2 separate regions of the Homo sapiens genome follow, and region 1 is linked to region 2. Evidence: promoter capture Hi-C in 16 types of primary human blood cells and fetal thymus (Javierre and others, 2016). All regions are on one chromosome and are shown on one strand. Each heading gives the region's core, a stretch centred on a gene start or on the middle of the fragment in contact. The rest is flanking DNA. Distances are from core to core; before and after follow the strand shown.

What was found. The method cuts DNA at HindIII sites, captures the fragments that hold promoters and counts their contacts. A CHiCAGO score of 5 or more calls a contact.
Region 1: the fragment with the promoter of HNRNPLL here is called in contact with the fragment with the promoter of HEATR5B in region 2 in 4 of 17 cell types (monocytes, neutrophils, naive B cells and 1 more); the score reaches 9.8 in monocytes.

What each region holds. Positions count from the first base shown.
Region 1 is chr2:38,599,423-38,604,188 of GRCh38, forward strand. It overlaps HNRNPLL (heterogeneous nuclear ribonucleoprotein L like), which reads right to left and starts at 3,506. Exons shown (of 13, transcript NM_138394.4): 1 at 3,016-3,506. The coding sequence starts at 3,204. RefSeq lists silencers at 3,226-3,325, 3,346-3,395, 3,616-3,685. The HindIII fragment of the contact is 8,602 bases long and covers 1-4,766 here.
Region 2 is chr2:37,080,940-37,085,866 of GRCh38, forward strand. It overlaps HEATR5B (HEAT repeat containing 5B), which reads right to left and starts at 3,433. Exons shown (of 36, transcript NM_019024.3): 1 at 3,330-3,433; 2 at 2,350-2,497. The coding sequence starts at 2,475. It overlaps GPATCH11 (G-patch domain containing 11), which reads left to right and starts at 3,579. Exons shown (of 9, transcript NM_174931.4): 1 at 3,579-3,631. RefSeq lists enhancers at 2,941-3,040, 3,511-3,670. The HindIII fragment of the contact is 3,413 bases long and covers 2,553-4,927 here.

The DNA of each region.
Region 1 (4,766 bases), core at 2,256-4,755, 1.5 Mb after region 2:
TAATATGATCTTGAAGGTCATGCCTATTAAATTTAAGAACACTACTCCACAAGAAAAAAGTAACTGTATAATATGTGGCAGGAACCTCTATAATCAAGCCTTATTCAACAATGCAGCTCAGTGAATGTGAAAAACCCTAGGAGTTTTTTGCTCTATTAAAAAAAGGTACCAGAAGACACAAATTTGAAGGGTGTTTTATTTCTCATATCCAAAGTATTAACTCTTCTCTCATTTCTCTTTGTACCTTCAACATAATGATCACTCACAATTATCCATTCATTTCTAAGTTAAGAGCCTTTGTAGAACCACTATGTTTTTCTTAAATACTCACTTTCCTCTTTAAATGTAGTCAATATATTATCAAAGCACTCAAGGTTAATCATAAAAAACCAAGCAATGTAAATCTTCAAAGGCTTACTTTGCACTTTACAAACTTCCAACTAGAGTTGAAAAGAATGCCATCATTGTACCTAACCTGCATTTACTTTAACAGTCTGACCACAAAGGTATTTCTTCTCTGGGCTGAAGGACCACTGAAGTTGTGCAAAACCCTTTTCGGTTACAATGAATTACCAAACATGTGAACGAAGAAGCACAAGACAGTAAACTTCTATCCGGGGAACGTCTATCCTAATAATAGAATTTTATTATGTACAGGTTTCCATAGTTGCCATGATTTCAAAATAGTACCAAAAATTACATGAAAAATATTTAAAAACAAGATAAACAAGGCTTCATTAGATTTCATAGTACAATGATGGTTTTACTGTTAAATGAAAACAATTCACCCTTTCCTAGGAAACATATCAGCAGTAAGATAAACAAAAAAATTAAAATTTATACCTCAATCTGCTTATATCAGTTCCCGCCGGGGTAACTTAAAAGCAGCATTAGCATTACGTTAATCACTTAACTATAGCTTCGGTTAAAAAAGGCATGTGTTTCAACCTTCATATTTTACAGACTAAGAGAACTCAGAGTAGTAAACTGACTTTCTCAGACTCACACAAATTGTATGCTAAGACCAGGTGCGGTGGCTCACGGCTGTAATCCCAGCACTTTGGGAGGCCAACTCAGGTGGATCTCTTGAGCCCAGGAGTTAAGAGACTAGCTTTGGCAATATGGTGAAACCCCTTCTCTACAAAACACAGAAAAAAAAAATTGGCCCGGCGTGGTGATGCAGGCTTCCAGTCCCAGCAACCCGGGAGGCTGAGGTAGGAGGATCGCTTGAGACAGGGAGATCAAGGCTGCAGTGAGCCGTGATCACGAGCTGCTGCACTCCAGAGCTGCTGCACTCCAGCCCCGGGCCATAGAGTGAGATCCTCTCAAAAAAAAAAAAAAATTGTATGCTAAGCCTAGACTCTTGACCACCCCCAAGCCCTACTCAGTGCCATTTCCACCGCTCCACACATTTCGCTTTGGATACATTAATTATATGTTATTTTCTTCCCAACATCCAAAATAATACTATTGATTTAATGCTTTATCTGTTTTCAAAAACAAATTTTTATAATCTGATTTAAGTATCTTTCCAAAATGCCTGAAGACATTTCATGATGCTGCACAAAAACCCAAGCAAGATTTCTAGCAACGAGGTACACTGATCGAATACATCGAAATATCAGTTATAATATTCCTGTTTCCAATTTCCACAACAGAGTTGGCTTTGAACTGAAACTTCCTAAGAAAAAACCATTTCCTTTATTCACACTTCCAAGTTACATTTTGAATATTTCAAATAGCTCGGCACAAAAATCTAAAGTAATAGCTAACACCGTAACAAGACTGAGAGAAAAAGTTCCTTTTTTAAATGTGTTGCAAAGTTTGCTCTCACATCCTGGTAACTGGAAACTGCAACGCTGGGTGACTGACCAGCCTTTTTTTTTATTATTTAAAAATTCAAACGGCTATAAAGGGCTTCTAATGTGCGTCTTATTTTTAAAAGGTAAGGTAAAAACCCTTTTAACCTAATAGTAGGATATATGTGTACAGTTTCGTAATTCTGTTAAAGTTTGCAGAATTAATCACAATTCATGTGTTAAATGTTTAAATAACATCTAAGTCATTAAAACCGCTTAAGTGCACCAAAAAAGGGCAATAACGTTTGCTCCGCTTTGTTTCCTTAAAGTCTCCATCCAACTGAAGCTAACTACTTGCTGTGGACAAAATGATCACATTCCTTCTGCCTCCCCCTAACATTTCTGGTAAGAGAAAGACCTGGCTCTAGGAATGTGTGTTTAATGCAACCCTGAGCTCACTTCATCCTTTCATGGGGCAAATGTGGAATAAATTACCAATGAAAAACTTTAGTAATTTTAAGATTTGTTTTACTTGAAGGTAGGGGTGTACCAACAGCTGCCAACACTTCTGTTGAAGTGTTGTAACCGAAGAGGTAAAAAGTGTACTGAGTAATCCACAAAATTGGGTAGAGCAAAGGATGCACGCCATGCTTATAAAGAGTTTAATTTTAAAATTTTTTAAATTAAACCTTCAAGGGAACTAGCATGTGAACGCCAAGGCATAATCTGTTATTTAATTACGGGTCTCCATAGGACCGAGGCGGAGAGAGCTCCCGGTAGAACCGACGCAACCATCCCGGGATGGTGACCAACGCGCGGCTGCTGCGGGCAGAGGGACTGAAGAGAACCGGTGGTCCCGACGCTGGCCCCGAGCCCGAGGAGTTAAACTAACAAAGAGCTCCCCGAGCCGCGAAACCCCCCAGAGCGGAAGCGACGCCTCCCCGCCGCCGCCGCCGCGCCGCGACCCTCCCCAAGTTCAGGGCCCGGCAGTGGACTCGCTGCGGGGCCTGCGGCCAGGACGGCGCCGGGTTCGCAGTCGGGATGCGGGAAACAGGTAGAGGCCAGAATACGAGCCCCAAAGAGAAGAGTGGGCGCTTCCCCAAACGGGTCGGCGCAGCGGAAAAGGCTAACTGAAGCAAGCGGGAGGCCCCGCACCGAGGCCCTGCTTCCCGGGGAGCAGCCAGGCACAGCGGACAGGGGGGCCGCGCTTTGTTACCGGCTGAGAGAAGCTCCGGCCGCCGCCGCCGCCATCGCCCCCGCCCCGGGGCGTCGCTTCCCGGCGGTTCTCGCCTTCCTCGGCCGAGTAGTCGATCTCCCCCTCCTCGGTCTTGAGACGCTTGGCCTGGCTCTCGTACTCCCGGTCCTCCTCGTACGTCTCCCTGGGGGAGGAAGAGGAGGAGGACATGGCGGCGGCCGGAGGGACCGGCTGGCAGGCGGGTGGGGGTGGCGGTGGGGCGCGCGCCTCGGATGCCGCCGGCCAGTCCTCGCCGCCGGCAGCGCCTCTTCTGCGAGGGTCTCCGCGGCCCGGCCGTCCGCGGGGACTGCGCGGCCAGGAGACTGGCGGCTGAGAAGCGCGGACGGACTGAGGGGGGCGCCCCGGGAGGAAGCTCTGGAGCGGCCGCTCCTCTCAATTACCGAGCCAACATTCAGCCTCTCCCTCCTCCTCCTCCGTCTCCGCTCCCTGCCCGGAGGAGCGAATCTAAGGATGGGGACGCAACCGTGGCTTCCGGTCTTCCCTCCTCCCCTAAGCCGCTCCCAGCCGCGCAGGCCGAGCCTCCGCCCCCGCCTTCGCGGCCGTCGCGCAGGATCGAATCCAGCCGCAGCCTGCGGGAAGCGCCCCCCCCGGCCCGGGTTCTGCTCCCTATTGGCAGGGGCGGGAAAGTCGACCGGGCTTCCCATTGGCTGTGAGGGCCGTTCGTCAAAAGCCGCCCGCTGCTCGACCTCACTTCTCTCCCCGCGCCTTCTGAACTCGCCGCGGTCCTGGGAGGCCCGGCGCGCAAGGCGCGCCGCCTGGGAGTAGTTGCGACCCGCAACCGTTGGCGCTATGCGGCTCCTACCCGAGGCCAGGCGTGGAGTGAACACGGACGAGCGACGAGAAGTGCGGAGAGGCTAGGGCTGCGGGTGTTAACCGCCCTGCCGCTAATTTAAATGCTTTTTATCACCTCTTAAAAAGAGAATGAGGAAAAAAACCTCTAAAATCCCTGCAGTCATACCCCCCGAAAAGCCCTAAAATTGCAGGCGATGAAGGGAGAAAACGGCTTGGAGCCATGAGAATGGTCTTTCCACTGTTTTGTGTGCAAAATCTGGTAGAAGTGGGCGGACCCTCCCGCCCCTAGCTGGGTGTTGGAGAACAGCTGTCAGCATTGACTGAAGGCTGCGAGGCGCGCGTCGGCAGGAGGCGCTGCACGCGGGCGCTCGTCGGTCTGATCGGTTATAACTCGTTTGTAACCTGGGCCCTTTACTGACTTGCCTGTCCCTGTAAGTCCCTGCTCCAGTTAAATATGTTTTAATCCTTCCATATAAAATCTCATCCTCCATCCCAATTCTTTCTCTTCTGGACAATGTATTTACTTCACTTGATCATTTATTGTCGAAAGATACAAAAGCCTTTCAAAGTTCTGTGATCACAGCTTGCTTCCTCTGTGGTGTCCTGAGGGCTTTTCCAAGATTTTAGTTGCTGCTCTCTTTTTGCAACAGGGCCCCTTATAACTCCCTCTTAAGATGTTCTGTTTTAAAAACTCTGTGAGCGCCTGAAGACAGGAACTGTGTGCAATTTTCATTTTCGCAAGCCCAGTTCCTGTGCGATCTCCAGCACAATTTAGGTGCTCAACAATGCTGAATGAGTAGTCCTTGGGAAATAAAGGTCCAGTGTATCTTTCAGGACAGAAACTGGCAAATCAAGGCAACCTAACTGCCCTCTGTCAGGTGCCTCTTGGAGGACTGCCTGAGATCAAGAGCCTCTTGTGT
Region 2 (4,927 bases), core at 2,183-4,682:
TTAATTTGGGTGGAGGGTGTACAGATATTCATATTATGCTTCCTGTTTTATACACTCTTGTATTTATCAATTTCAGAACAAAATTAAAGACGTTTTAAGTGTTTCAAGGTGAAAAGATGGAGATGGATCAAATAAGACAGAATACTGACCACTGTTCTGGGCAATCTGTCATCAGTAATGGCTGGACAAGTGCTGTTTCAGTGGAGTGGAAGTAAATCCCCAGTTGTAGAGGATTTAAGAGAAAACAGAAACGTCTAGTTGACAATTACAAGTGAATCCATGCATTGTTTTTTTTTTATACTTCAAGTTCTAGGGTACATGTGCACAATGTGCAGGTTTGCTACATATGTATACATGTGCCATGTTGGTGTGCTGCACCCATTAACTCGTCATTTACATTAGGTCATGCATTGACTGTTTCTATAGAAATTCCATTAAAACCATACTAAAGGGTAGCAACAACAACAGGAACAATAACAACAAAGCACAAATCCAAAGGGTAAAGAAAACAGGAGAAAGAATCAACACAGTATTTGGAAACCAACTGTTCCCAACAGGGAAAGCTGCAAAATGACCTAACTTACAACACAGGACCCCCTAAGAGATCACGGTTTTTTTAAGCCCTAGGTGCTTTTGGAGGTGGGAGTGAAGTTGTATGTACCTTGAGATAGAGGGAATGGTTGAGAGTCTAATAAGCAGAAAGAATCCTCTTCTTCATTATGGAAGCAGACTGAAAGTTTATTCTCTGGGAAGAGTGAAATATTGTATGTCCAGACTAGAAGAGTCCAGGCACAGTTGCGGTCTGGGAAAACTGCACTGAAAATGGGGAGATGCAGTGAAAGTTCACATACTGAACTTTAAAGTCCCCAGTCTTCTCCCACAACTCCAAGAATGTAGCCAGCTAGCTATATACTCTTCAGACACGACAGTAGAAAAGTATCTTCTGGGGAATGACTAGCCTACAGAAACCTAAAATACTAAGGTCAGGGACCAAACTAGCCTACAGTGAAGTCCAGTTTAAAAGACTGGCCCTGCTGAGAAAAGTTTTTACTACTCACTTTTAAATTTGATCAGGCAGCCAAAGATCATCAGACATTTGAGGGAAGTATCTACTTTTTTTTTTTTTTTTTTTTTTTTTTTTTTTTTTCAGATGGAGTTTCACTCTTGTCCCCCGGGCTGGAGTGCATTAGTGCGATCTCGGCTCCTTGCAACCTCTGCCTTTCCGGCTCAAGCGATTCTCCTGCCTCAGCCTCCCCAGTAGCTGGGATTACAGGCGCCCACGACCACGCCTGGCTAATTTTCGTACTTTTAGCAGTGTTTAGTAGAAACGGGGTTTCACCATGTTGGCCAGGCTAGTCTGGAACTCCTGACCTCAGGTGATCCACCCACCTCAGCTTCCCAACGTGCTGGGATTACAGGCGTGAACCACCATGCCGGGCCATATCTACTTTTAAAGACAGAATATAAAATACACAGACAATAAAAAGTAAGTTGAATCAATGTTGGGAACTGGCTCCAAAACTGGCCATAAATAAAATCTCTGCAGCACTGTGACATGTTCATGATGGCCATAACGAAACCCGAATGAGGGCAAGGAACACCTGGCCTGAAAACCGCTTAAAGGCGCTCTTAAACCACAAACAATACCATGAGCGATCTGCGCCTTAAGGGCATGTTCCTGCTGCACAGAACTAGCCAGACCCACCCCTTTGTTTCAGCATACCCCTTCGTTTCCCATAAGGGATACTTTTAGCTAATCGAATATCTGTAGAAACAATGTTAATGGCTGGCTTGCTGTTAATAGACACTTGAGTAAATCTCTGTTCCGGGGTCTCAGCTCTGAAGCCTGTGAGACCCCTGATTTCCCACTTTACACCTCTATATTTCTGTGTGTGTCTTTAATTCCTCTAGCGCCGCTAGGTTAGGGTCTCCCCAAACGAGCTGGTCTCGGCAAATCAAGGCTATGCAGGAAGAAAAAACAGATTAAAAAAAAAAAAGAGCCTATTATTGACTCCTCAAAGAGATAAGTGAAGACACTGGGATTGTTAGGCAGCATAGAGAGATCACTTGCAACGGGTGACGATGATAAATTTAAAGTGACACCAGTCATATAGCCATGTTTTTCTCCAGTTACAATGAGCTGCCCAGGTACAAACATAAAGAAGATAGGCAATGAGCTGGATTTAAACGAGGTTTGAGTTTTGCCACTAAATTTCCCATTCGTGTAATACTCTCAAGTTCCATAAGTGACCCATAAACCTTCCAAAACATAACATGTGTTTTCTTAAGAATCATGACCACATAATCTCTTCACGTTAATGCAACTGGGAAAAAAGAGCAATACCATACCTTGTTGGCAGCAACCAAGACTTTATCAAGAAATCGCAACCATTCAAAGATGAAAACTGGTCTTTTTGCTTCGGTGATTTGAGCCAAAGCTTCTTCATTTAGCAATAAACTGTGGGCTAACTCCATTACGGAAGTTTGAAATTCACACCTTAAATTTAACAGAGTAAAAAATACTTGTAAGTATTTTTTAATGTTAAAAGTCAAGCTTAATGGAATATACTCACTAAGAAAAGTAGGACTACTCATTTCATTTGGGGAAAAACTCAACTTCTTTGAGGCAAAACCTGAGAACATACTTTTAAATGACAAAAATACAAACAAAAACAGAAGAAAACTACTTGGTAAGGAAGAGTGACTCATGGAGTGAAAAGAAAATTAAAAGAAATTATTGCCAAAAAAGGCATTATTCCAGAAGAAATATGTCCAGCAACACATATGTCATTTACCCGTTCTATAAATGAAAAAACTGAAGCACTAAGATCAAACACCCCAGCCGGGCTTGACAACCATCCTCCTCTTTTTCTCGTCCAGGGTTCGGTACATAGCACCTTTACCCTCCCGCGCTGCACCTGGCCAGAGGGACTGAGGTCAAAACACCCAGCACAGACATCCCGAACTGCAGGTCTCCAAGACTCTTCCTACGCGGATGGGTGGGGCGGCCAGGCCCGGCGGCCGAAGCGTCAGTGACAACACCAGGCGGTCCGGAATGCACCCGAGAAGCCTCGCGCGCTCGGGGTCTGGCTTCACCTGGCTACTCCAAGAACCGCAAGCGGCGGACCCGGGGAAACACCAAGAGGCCGCCGCAAGCCTCCGTGGGGTTCCGCAGGCTGTCAATAGCACGAGGCGGCAGCTCGGAACTAAGCACGGAGCCAGAAAAGGGAAAATGTTCATTACGAACTCAAATGTCTTCCCCACCCGTCTGAAAATGTACGTCGGACAGGAGTCCGTGCGTGTCAACATGCATGCTTCGGCGACCTCACCTCGTAGTCTGGAAGGGAAGATCAGCTGAGCTCCGGGGGTAGAAGCAGCCACCAAGAGACCCGGATGCCCCACCTCCCGCACTCCTACCTGCAGGAAACAAGGGAAGAGCGCTTGCGCGGAGGGCTGGTCTTGCGCAAGCGCAGTCACCACGTCCTCCTATCCCCACCCGCCGCGAATTTCCAATAGAGTCTGCACTAGGAAACTGGTGGGAGCCGAGGTCCGGAAGTCCGACGCTGGTCGGTGGGCGCATGCGCAGCGCGCGCTCTACGGCGCTGAACCGGGGCGAGCAGAGAGCTGTCAGGTAAGAGAGCTGTCAGGTAAGGGTCTGGGGACAACCGGTAGAATGATAAAAGGCAGAGTGCGCTGGCCATGACTACCGTATCACACCGTCAGCCACTTTTCCATCCGTGGGTGGTTGCGTCTGTGGGACGCTTGCAGCCAGGAGGAACGCGTGAGGGAAGGGATCAGCGGTTCCTGAGCGTAGTATTGAGAGTGGGACGTTTCTTGTCACATTTATACTGTAGGTCCATTTCTCCACTTGTATATGTAATGGGACTCTCAATATGTCTGTTTCCCGACTACGCCCCCTAAAAAAACAAAAACAAACCTACTCCTACAGTCTTCCCACTCTCAAAAAACGTTAACTCCGTTCTTCCATGTATTCAGGCCAAAAACTTAGCGTTATCTTGACATCGTTCTTTACGTACTACCTACAACATCAGCAAATCCTGTAAGCTCTACCTTCAAGTGTACCCCAAATGCGACCACTTGCATTGCTATCACTCTGGTACGAGCCTCCATCATCTCTGCCAGGGTATCGCCTTGTGAAGTTTATGCTTATCTTTGATGGAAATGGATAATGCTAAAGTATATTTTACCAATAGAAAGAGAGCTTTAAAAGCAACCTGTAACCCCATTCAGATGTGCCTGGCACTTTAAAGTTAAGTAGGTCTCTTAAAAACAATGTAATCCTATTTGCAAGGCACTATGACCCGGATTCTTTGTGGTTTTGAAATAGTCATTTAGCCATACTGAACCTTAATTTCTCCAACAGGAAAAACTCTTCCTACCTTGTAGAGTTGTTAGTGGTGGTTAAATGTGATAAAAATGTGTGATATACTGGGTAAGTGTTAAACCATTATGTGTAAAAATGCTGTTATTACCAATGAAGAATCTGAGGTTTAGAGGAAGCGGGTGAATTACCATAAATGCTGTATATAATAGTGCACGTTTTTAACTTATAATAAAAATAGGTAAACTAAACTGTAATGTTTAAAGATGCACACGTGGATGACAAAACTATCGAGAAAATGAAGGAAATGATTGCCATAAAAAACAGAATAGTGACTATTCTTAGAACCAAAAGAGAGTTGCAACTGGATAGGGGACAAAGAGGGCTCCCAGGTGCCTGATAAGGTTCTACTTCCTGATAACTTTTGCTACATAACAAATTATCCCCAAATGTAGCAGCTTAAGATAACTGTAATCATTTGTTATCTCACAGTTTCTATGGGTCAGGAATTTGTTAGCAGCTTAGCTTAGTTTAGCATGGACTTTCTTAAGAAGTTGCAGTGAAGATGCCAGCCCAGGCTGAGTC